2 separate regions of the Homo sapiens genome follow, and region 1 is linked to region 2. Evidence: promoter capture Hi-C in 16 types of primary human blood cells and fetal thymus (Javierre and others, 2016). All regions are on one chromosome and are shown on one strand. Each heading gives the region's core, a stretch centred on a gene start or on the middle of the fragment in contact. The rest is flanking DNA. Distances are from core to core; before and after follow the strand shown. Region 1 holds the start of UTP23 (UTP23 small subunit processome component). Region 2 overlaps LOC105375711 (a long non-coding RNA gene).

The links. Contacts are between HindIII fragments. The CHiCAGO score rates a contact against its expected background, and 5 or more counts as called.
Region 1: the fragment with the promoter of UTP23 here is called in contact with a fragment that was not itself captured in region 2 in 1 of 17 cell types (non-activated CD4 T cells); the score reaches 5.0 in non-activated CD4 T cells.

The regions. Positions count from the first base shown.
Region 1 is chr8:116,764,018-116,769,341 of GRCh38, forward strand. UTP23 (UTP23 small subunit processome component) reads left to right here and starts at 2,507. Exons shown (of 3, transcript NM_032334.3): 1 at 2,507-2,774. The coding sequence starts at 2,587. It also overlaps a transcript of EIF3H not described here. RefSeq lists enhancers at 2,424-2,573, 2,584-2,893. The HindIII fragment of the contact is 9,967 bases long and covers 1-3,498 here.
Region 2 is chr8:116,469,616-116,474,305 of GRCh38, forward strand. The region is part of intron 2 of LOC105375711 (a long non-coding RNA gene); the gene reads left to right. Among named protein-coding and RNA genes, the nearest start is that of LINC00536, 150 kb to the left of the region's middle. The HindIII fragment of the contact is 1,042 bases long and covers 1,342-2,383 here.

The DNA of each region.
Region 1 (5,324 bases), core at 1,257-3,756, 300 kb after region 2:
ATCATGTACAACAGCATAATATTATAAAACTATATTTGATCCAGACATAATAAAATGAAGAACATAAAAAATAAAGAAAAATAAATTAATCGCCTACTTACTCCAGCTGAATGTGGATTTCTATTTGGCATGGAAAATGTCCAGTGGACTGACCTGAGAAAAAAGCTAAAAACTAGCAATGCTGTTATAAATTATTGTTCCTTCAGTATAAGGTCAAAAAAATTTCAATGAATATTAAATATTTTAATAATGACATAACTTTCAAAATAAAATTTCAGATTTAAATTTATATCCAAATGGTTCACTCAATAATGGCAGTATTTGGCTTCTGCCTTGGTTGTGGCTAAATATTGATTTTCCATTACAGATCATTTGGCATCTAAACAAAAGTGTATTAAGTGGACCAATTAATAAAAATATCTTATTGGATAAACGATGCTTTATTACAAAAAAGGTCCTTCAGGAACACTAATGAGCATAATAATGATTTGGGGAGATTGTAATAAATGTCACTTCCTCTTTGAATAGTACCCCTCTCCCTCAATACTTATTCTGAATCAGAAATGGGCATTTTAAACAAGCACACTAAGAGCTTTTTCTGCATATCCCAGGACCTTGTTTTGAGAAACACTGCTGTAATAGAAAACTCTATTTTTTTCTCTTTTTGTCTTCTTTTAATTTAGCAGAGACAGGGGCTCCCTATTTTGCCCAGGCTGGTTTCCAACTCCTGGGCTCAAGTGATCCTCCCGCCTCGGGCTCCCGAAGTTCTGGTATTACAGGCATGAGCCACCATGCCCGGCCGAAAACTTTGTTTTAAACTTGATAATCACCATTATAGACCATCTTCATGTTTTCATAATAAAGATAGGGTGCAAACTGGCACTGTCATATACATAGAGCTTGGGGAAAAAATGTGCTGTAGCTTGGTAAATTAAAAAACGACAACAAAAACTAAGATAAGACTAAAATCCCTAGTGCTGCACCACATTTTTCTTAGTACTGAAAAGTGGCCAAGGAGCTGGTAGATAAATCTGAGGCTATTTAAGAAAAAATGTTTTAACTGTTTTGCAAGACTCAGGTGGTATCTCGTTTCTCTGTCTGTGGTGGGCGCATAGTTGGAGTAGAGAGTTGGCATACAGGGATAAAAAGAGGATTCAAATTGAAAAGTACTGAGCAATTACACTCAAAGACCTTGAATCCAACCCTGCAAAAGTTTTCATGGCTTCCAATTCCTAAATTCATTTTAAGTTTAAATGAAAGCAACCATCTAAGTGATGTGCTGGGACTCAGATCAGGGCTAACATTATAGATCTTATTCCAATTTCATAAACCTACATATTGAAATAAAACCCCAAATGCAAACAATGCATTCAATCACGTTGTAAATCATTTTCTGTGCTGGTTCTTTCAATCTTTAGCCAAAACTAGATCTGGGACAGATTCCAGGCAAGGACAAAAATGCAAAATTCCATACTCCCCATTCTTTGATTATTTTACCTTGAAGTGGATACTCGACAGTTAGCCACGGGAGAACTTGAAATTTTCTGATTCATTCTCCTCATTAATCAAATTGACCAAGTAATTTTTAAACCTCCAGTCAGCTTTGTGCCTTCCTGTTACTGGCCCAGTATGTAGTCTTCCTATGTCAGAGACCATGCACATAAAAAGAGTACTTGAAACTTATCTAGACCTACAACCAGTTTGACAGTGAGGAAGTTGAACCCAGCTTTCTTCGGGAGTTGCCCAAGATCAAACGGCTTGGGTTTGTGGCAAAACCAGGACTCAAGGTTAGGAATTCTGACTCTAGGCAAACGAAGCTCTTGAGAGTTCTTCCAAAACACTCCATGCGAGTGATTTAGGATGGTCCTAAGGCAGGAGGAAATGCAAAATGGTGGCACCCTTTGCCCTGACAAATGGTTCCTGAGTGACGTTAGTTTCTATGGTGGTGTAGCAAGAACATTTGAACTTCAGGCACGAAAACTGGGTTCCAGACACTAACAAACTACGTGCCCTTCGTGAACGTGCTTAATTTCTTTATGGGAAAGCAGCCAGTACAAACCTCCCCACTCATAGCTATCCAATATATCATTTCCTTCTTTCACTTGGGAATTATAAACATTCAGGGGAATAATGTAAGGTAAATCACTTAGGACAGTGTCTGGAACATATTAAGGCTCAATATTATCACTGACTACTACTATACTGCCAGTCTTTCAGAGAAGCTCTTGCTACGCGCCTCTAAAACGTAGGTAACACGCTAAATGTATTCTCGTAATTTTCTTTTACCGTGGCCCCAGACTGCGCATGTGCGCCCCCGTGCGGAATCGCGCACCCCAGCGGTTTTCCAGCGTACGCACAAGTTCCGCCCTAAGGGACCGCCCCTTTAAGCGCGGGCACTGCGGTGGAAGCGCGCGCTGGTCTGGACATGACGTAAACCAATGGGCAGGCCCGGAAGACAGAGGCGTTTGCTTCCGTGGCCAAAGGCGCTTCATTTCCGGGTGAAACTGGCATTGAGGGTACTGGGGCGTGCGTGAGGCGTTTACTGATGCTTCCTGGTCCGGTGGCCTCGGTCCCGGTAAGCCAGGCATGAAGATCACAAGGCAGAAACATGCCAAGAAGCATCTTGGCTTCTTCCGCAACAACTTCGGAGTCCGCGAGCCGTACCAGATCCTGCTGGACGGCACCTTCTGTCAGGCGGCGCTGCGGGGCCGCATCCAGCTGCGGGAGCAGCTGCCCCGCTACCTCATGGGGGAGACGCAGCTGTGCACCACAAGGTGGGCCCGGGGGGCTGGGGAGGAGGCACAGAGGGTCCGTCGGGTGTTGTAGAGGCGAGGCCGTTGCTCACAGACCTTCATTGCGAGCTCAGGAGGTGCAAAACGCCCCGCCCACGTGGAGTTGACAGTTAAGTGGAGAGGTGAAGGTGGTCAGGCGAATACCTATAATAGAGGCAGATTGGACAGTGCCCTGTGAATATCACGTGTCGTTAGCCTGGCGAATGAGAGCACATTATAGCAGAGAGATCCGACTTCGAATCTTGATCCCAGTTCTACCAGCTCTGTGATTTCTGTCAAGTTATTTAGCCTCTCTGAGCCTCGGATTCCTCATTTGTAAAATAAAGATGATAACTGCTTAGAAGATTGCTGTAAGCTCAAACGAGTATAGTGTACTAGAGCATTTTTCGGTATCCAAAGTGTACCCGTCTTCAAATGGTTGCTGTCATTTGCATAGCTTTTCTTAGTTTAAACCAAAACTCTGCAAGCCTCACAGTGAACCTGTGAGTTACCATCTTTGATGTCCAGGGCAAAAAGTCAGTACTTGAGATTAAGGAATCTGCCCAAGCACATTTGTTTATTCAACTCGCTTTATTAAGTACCTCCTATATGCCACATACTGCTCCCTCATGGCCAGTAAAGTGCATAAGTCAGTCTGCAGTGTGTGTTTTCACTCTAGGTCTGATGTTTCCCCACTTCATTGAAATGTGGGAACACTTAGGATGGAAGCTTGTCGGGATGAAGAGGAGAGAGGAGAGAATTGTGACAGATTTCAGATAACATTTGAGCCCATTCACTTGTTCAGTTCTGAGAGGAAGAACTATTTTGAATGACAGAAAAGAATGACACTTCTTGTTGTGGAGACCTCTTCACACGAAATGGAGTTATGAAATGCCTGGGAAAGAGGTTGCAGCACAGAATATATTTGGGAGTGAAACTAGGAAGAAGGCAAATTGAGGCTAGGCCATGAAGAACTATTAAGAAATTTAGTAGTTTTTTCATTGTAGAATATTTACTTTTAAAAAGCAAAAAAAGAAAATTAAAATGACTCATAATACCACTACTCACGAATAATCACTGTTAACATGTGCAGTGTCATCCATCCAGTTCTTTATACACACTCACACAAGCACAAGAATGGACTTTTAAGCCAGGCAAGGTGGCTCACACTTGTAATCCTAGTAGCTACACAGGAGGCTGAGACAGGAGGGTTGCCTGAGTCTAGGAGTTTGAGGTGAGCCTGAGCAACGTAGGAAACCCCCATCTCTAACTACAGCCATAACAAAGTATGGGCTTTTTCTGTGTATACTGTGTTAATAGTCTCCTTTTCCTCACATACGATTACTTAATGAACAGCTATCTGTATTTGTTCAGAATTTCTCAAGCAGGGTCTCGGCTGGGTTACAGATACCCCCAAAGTTTTGATCCCCTTAGTCTTTAGGGCTGTCTAACAAATCCTTCAGTAGTCTTTGCTCCTGAATTGATTGCTTTTGTCTACAAGCAATTTGTCCATATACTCCTGTGTGCCATAGAAATATTAACATTTTAAATATAGTGCTATGATATTAAAAAGGTTGAGAAGTGCCACATAAAATTATATTCTACAGCAATTTTTCTAACAAATTTATTTTAACTCTGGAATTTTTCAGACAACTCAAAGGTAGAATAATATAATGAAACCTCTCTCCAGCTTTTGCAGTTATTAACATGGCCAATCTTGTTGAATCCCTCACCTCTCCTTACTGATGGGTTGCTTTGGAGCATATTATTTATCACTTCTTTGGCATGTATCTTGAAAAGATAAAGAAGGCTTTTAAAAATCAGTATTCAAACTAAATACATATATTACATTTGATTTATATGTCACTTAAGTTTTTTAAAAAAATTTATTTTTGAGATGGAGTCTCACTTTATTGCCCAGGCTGGAGTGCAGTGGTGCGATCATGGCTCACTGCAGCCTCCGCCTCCCGGGTTCAAGTGATTTCCCTACATCAGCCTCCCAAGTAGCTGAGATTACAGATGTGTGACACCACGTCCTACTAATTTTTGTATTTTTTAGCAGAGACAATGTTTCACCACGTTGACCAGGCTCGTCTTGAACTCCTGACCGCAGGTGATCCACCCACCTCGGCCCCCAAAGCATGGGGATTACAGGCATGAGCCACCATGCCAGGCAGTTTTTAAAAATTTTGGCAGTTTCCCCTCCCTTTAAATTTTGCAATTTATGTTTTTAAGAAATCAGGTCATTCGTTTTTCAGTGGAATATATTTCTTGGCCACTAGTAGTTAGGTCTCTACAGAGTTTACTGATATTCAGGTTTGAAGATGTGTGGAGTTAATTGATGAAGTAGAACAGCAGAATGTTATCAGGCCTGGGTTTTATTTTAGAAAAGATAACTGCAGTGATGTGAAGGGTAAATTGGAGAAACAAGAGAGCAAAGGCATGAATCTGTTTTGCGGTTGTTTAATCAAGAAGTAAGGGGAGCCTAAACCTGGGAGAGGAAAGGCAGGAACCCAAGGGTTCTCCAAAGAAACGCTACGTTACTGAGATAGA
Region 2 (4,690 bases), core at 613-3,112:
TTATATCTTTGGTCACAAAGTAAGACATCTTTCTATGTGGATTCTGGTTACTATCATTTGCTTCTGTGAATACGAGGCCTACATTGGTTCATTGGCCCAAGATGTAGTCATACCTTTACGAAATGACATTTGAGTTCCCGGATCTGGTAGTTCTCTGCCAAAATACAATAAGGTGCCCTCACCTAAATGGCCTCCCCCAGTATGCAGAGACCAAGTAATTTATTAGTAAATTCACAAATTAATTAACATTTAAAGTAGTACAATTTGTACCTACTGCATGTATACTTTAGGAAGGACAGTAGTAGAGAAACCACAGTAGTCCAAAAGCTTTGTCTACGTGACCAGGAGATAGAGTCCTCAGTGGTTAAGAACCTGCCATGAACTTGGTTCTCAGATAAACCCAGACCTAAAGCTCATTTCTACTACTTGCTGGCTGTGTGGTCTTAAACCTCTCAGAGCCCTGGTATTCACACATAAGTAGACTAATAGTATCCACCTCTAAGGTATTATAGACAAAGTTCCTTTTTGTAACAATGACTGGAACAAAAAATACTTGTTGTTTGGTATTATTACTATTATTATATATTGTATTCTTTCTATATAATCTCTTAAATATTCTTACAAAAAAGAATCATTTACAAGAAGAGATTAGAAGAAGCAGTCCCAATGAATTGCAAAAGTATTTTAACAACTTTTTATGTTTCATGAAAACAGTCAGAGAAAAATACTCTACAAAAAGATCAATTATTTTGCTTCATAGAAAAGACTGATAATTTAAACTATTCCCCCCTTTTCCGTTTTCCATCAATAAACCTACATGGACATGAGCCCGCATATGCCAGTGCATGATTATGCCCAGCTTGATATAGTTTAGGTATCCAATGTTATCACAGATGTTTCAGCCCTTGAGACATATATTATATTGCATGTCCATAAAATAAGACAGAAAAACATCACATTCTGACAAACCTGGCATCATATGCACTGACTATTGGCATTTCCAGTGCAGGCACTGTCTCTTTAAACAAGTTTCACATTTAAACAGACCTCACTGAATCTGATGGTGCCAGAACTTCACCAGCTTGCCTCTGAAGAGCAAGACAAAACTTTCTGAATCAGATAAGACACAAACTGTATTTTTCTTCCACAGGTATTTGTTCAGGAGCTGATTTCCTTGGGGGCAGCAGAAAGGGCTTAAGTTGCTGACACTCACTACACCAGTTAGAACCAAACAACGGGGTTTCTCATTCCCTTCAAAGCATAATTCAGAAAATGTAAAAGAGCCTTCCAAGTTCAACACTAAATATAATAATAATAATACACCACCATAATTTAGATCAAAGCTTACATATTTTGACAATGCTGTTGGAAGAGTTCCAATGAAAAGAAAAGTGTTCAGTCATTTAGAAGACATTTACCAAGCATCTACTATGTAGGAGGCTCTATTCCAGGCTCTGGGAATATAGTGGTGAATAACACAGATGATAAGAGCTGCCTGTGCAAAACAGTCCTTATTTTTAAGATGTCTTCTAGGCCCTGGCCTTGTGCATTAGCTGAGGCAGGGAGGCAAGTGATGGCCATCATAAGGCATGGACTTTGGCGTCACAATGACCAGGGTTCAGTTCCTAGCATCCCTGTATTGTAACGTTGGCCAAGTTGCTTCACCTCTCTGAGCTTCCTCTGGTGTCAGATCAAGATATTAATGGCGCCCTCCTTAGAGAACTGTTGTAAGGATTAGCTACTTCAGACTGTCACCTAGACAACAGTCAACAAAAAGCAATTTATTCCATTCCCTTGTTCAAGCCCAGTTATCCTTACTGGATAAGGAAATATGTAAAGACAAGACGTGGAAGTAATAAGTGGGTTTGTCTCTGAAATCAAGGTGGGCACTCAAACAATTAGGCAGCATTTTGATATTTGAGTCTTCTATTAGTAATTCAGGAAGCTGTAAAAGATGAGCAGCACACATTGCCTCCTTGTTTTATCCTTTAAATTACTTTAATCAGTGATTCTTTGAGAAGCATAAAGTCAAAAAAAAAAGAAATAACAAAACTCTGAGATATCTGAATCTATAAATGCTTACCGAAAAAACAACAACAACAACAACAAAAAACTGCCATGATCTGCTGGAGACCCACATGAAAACTTGGATACTGCTTTCTTCTCACAAACCCTTCCCAGTTTTGAAAATAAAGCTCAAACACTTTGCCTCCGTTCAGTTCAGCAAAGGTAGCAGCTTAGACATAAAAGTGCAAACACTGGAGGGGGAAAAAAAAAAAAACAGCCGTGGCTGGCTGCCAGCTCTTGGCCAATCAGTCTTCACAAGGAAGGTTGCGTCAGAGGCTTTGAGCCTGCTGGAACCTCTGCAGCTGCCTGCAACACAAGCTTGGACCACCCAGGCCGAAGTGGATGGGCATCTGGAGAAACGCGCAAACAATGGAGAACGTTAGAGTCCTGCATTTCCAAGCCAGTGATTCTGTCCCTAGGCTTAGCTGGGACTTTGAGAAAGTCCTGGGCTAAAAAGAAATCTAATATAAGCTAACTGGCCCTACTATTAAATTGCTGTCTCAGGTCAGCAGCATAACCCCCAGAATGGAAAAATATTTTTTCAGTGGAAAATCACCCGTCTCAGTATTCATGGATCTAGTTTTCAACGGGTGTTGGGCTCCCACCCAATGTAATTAACATCTTACCTGTGGGTGGCTGGTAGAATTGCTTTACACCTCTCTCATCAACCCAGCACCTAACACTTCCTGAAATGCAATATACAAACAAATAGGAAATTATGTTTCTGAAAATAGACTATTTGGTTGGGGGCTCTCTGGTAGCCCCTCAGTTCTTCTCTCAGCAAATTTATTTTTTCTAATTTAAATGTCAGAGAACAGGCCCACATCATTCAAAGCCTTGCTCAAACATAAGCCATGCCAACTTGTTATAATTACAATGAGATACAATAGCGGACGTGGGGAAAGCCTAATTAAAGAGTTGGACCTGGCATCCCAGATGGAAAGCAAAGTACGTGGCCTTCTATCAGATCTGAATAAAAACCCTGCTCACTGATGATGGATGTCTCTAGGAAACACACACCCTCCCAGGACCCAAAGTACAGATGCTCGGGAAGGAGTAGGAGAGAAACATTCTGCTAAGACAGAAACTGAAACTAAAACCCGGGGGGAAAGCACTCATGCCTGCATCCCAACCCCAGTGACTCTGATTTAATAGGGTCTGGGGTGCAGCCTGAGTGCCAAATTTTTTTAATTCTCCAAGTGATAGTATTGTGCAGCCAAGATTGAGAAACCCTACAAAATATTCCTTAGATAATGACCTCCACTTTAACAGAATATTTAACTAGGAAGTCAGTGTATTATGGCAGAGTAATTTACCAGATCTAACAGAGCAAAGCATAGCAATAATTTTCTACACTGCACTATAAATGTTGATTGTGCCTCCTGAACTAGACTGGAAGCTTCAAGGGGGTGTTTTATCTCCAGCTCCTAAGAGAGGGATGTAGACATAGCAAATAGAAGCATTTGCTCAATCATCAGATAGATGCTTAGAAAACATCATACTGTCTGGATGTTTAAGCAGAAAGACAAACTTTACAGCCACCGTTTTTTCTACAATCCTCTAAAGCATTTATTTTTCAAAATGTAATGTGCATGAGAGGCTTACTAAATATGTAGGTTCTTATGCCTCACCTAGAACCTAAAGAGATACTCAGAAAAATTCAGTCCAGTTCAGCAGTAACTGCACAAGAATTCCTCCATTGCCCGGTACAACCCGGGAACAAAACAGCCCAGTGGCATATCTATATATCTGAGATGAGAGTCCACAAACAACCCGCTAAACAAGAAAAACCTCCTTTCATCTAAGTTCTTGAAGCCAAAGATACATCATAGGTTAATTATACAAAGGGCATGAAAGAGTTGTGTAGTTCACTTCAATTCAACACAGAGAGAGCTGCTCTTATAGATTTAACATAAGTAGTAAAAAATGGGGTGGAGTGAAAATTCTGGATTCGGTGTGGGATTCTCAGCAGTAAGAGGCAGTGTTTCTGGCTGAAAGCTACACTTTATACTCAGTGAAGGGAATCCAGATGCGTTCCCTTCCAGAGTTCATTGCAGGGCTTGAATTGAAGCTGCATTTCTTGTTACCTTAGGTAGGCTCTATAGGAGCCAACTTTTAGGAAAACCAACAAAGCAAGTAATCTTATATCCTCAGAAGAGATTAGGCAATACACTGTGATATAGAGTTCCAATATCATCGTGAAACACAAAAGTCTCTGCATGCAGTTCTTCCTCTAAAGTGAGTATGACCCCAGGGTGGAAAAGGATTTCTTTTCTTCAAGTAACAGGCTTAGAATTTAATGGTGCCATTATACAGATTTCCTTCAAATTCTAGTCTAGTCTCATACTTGCTGTGTGACTTTGGCAAGTTACTTAACCCATCTGAATCTCCATTTATTCATCCTTGCCATGGGAGATTTTTGCTTATTGCAGAGTTATTGTGAAGTTGAAATGTAAATTACTCAGCAGAGTTCTCATATTAACTGATGAGGAAAAAGAGAATTGCACCTTCTGTACCTTCTGCTGGTCCTAGGCAAGGTGAAATTCTTCATGCCCAGTTGTCTAGTCACAATCCCTGTGCTTTCTCTACAGTTGTTTTATTTGAACCACTGAATTGTTTTCTC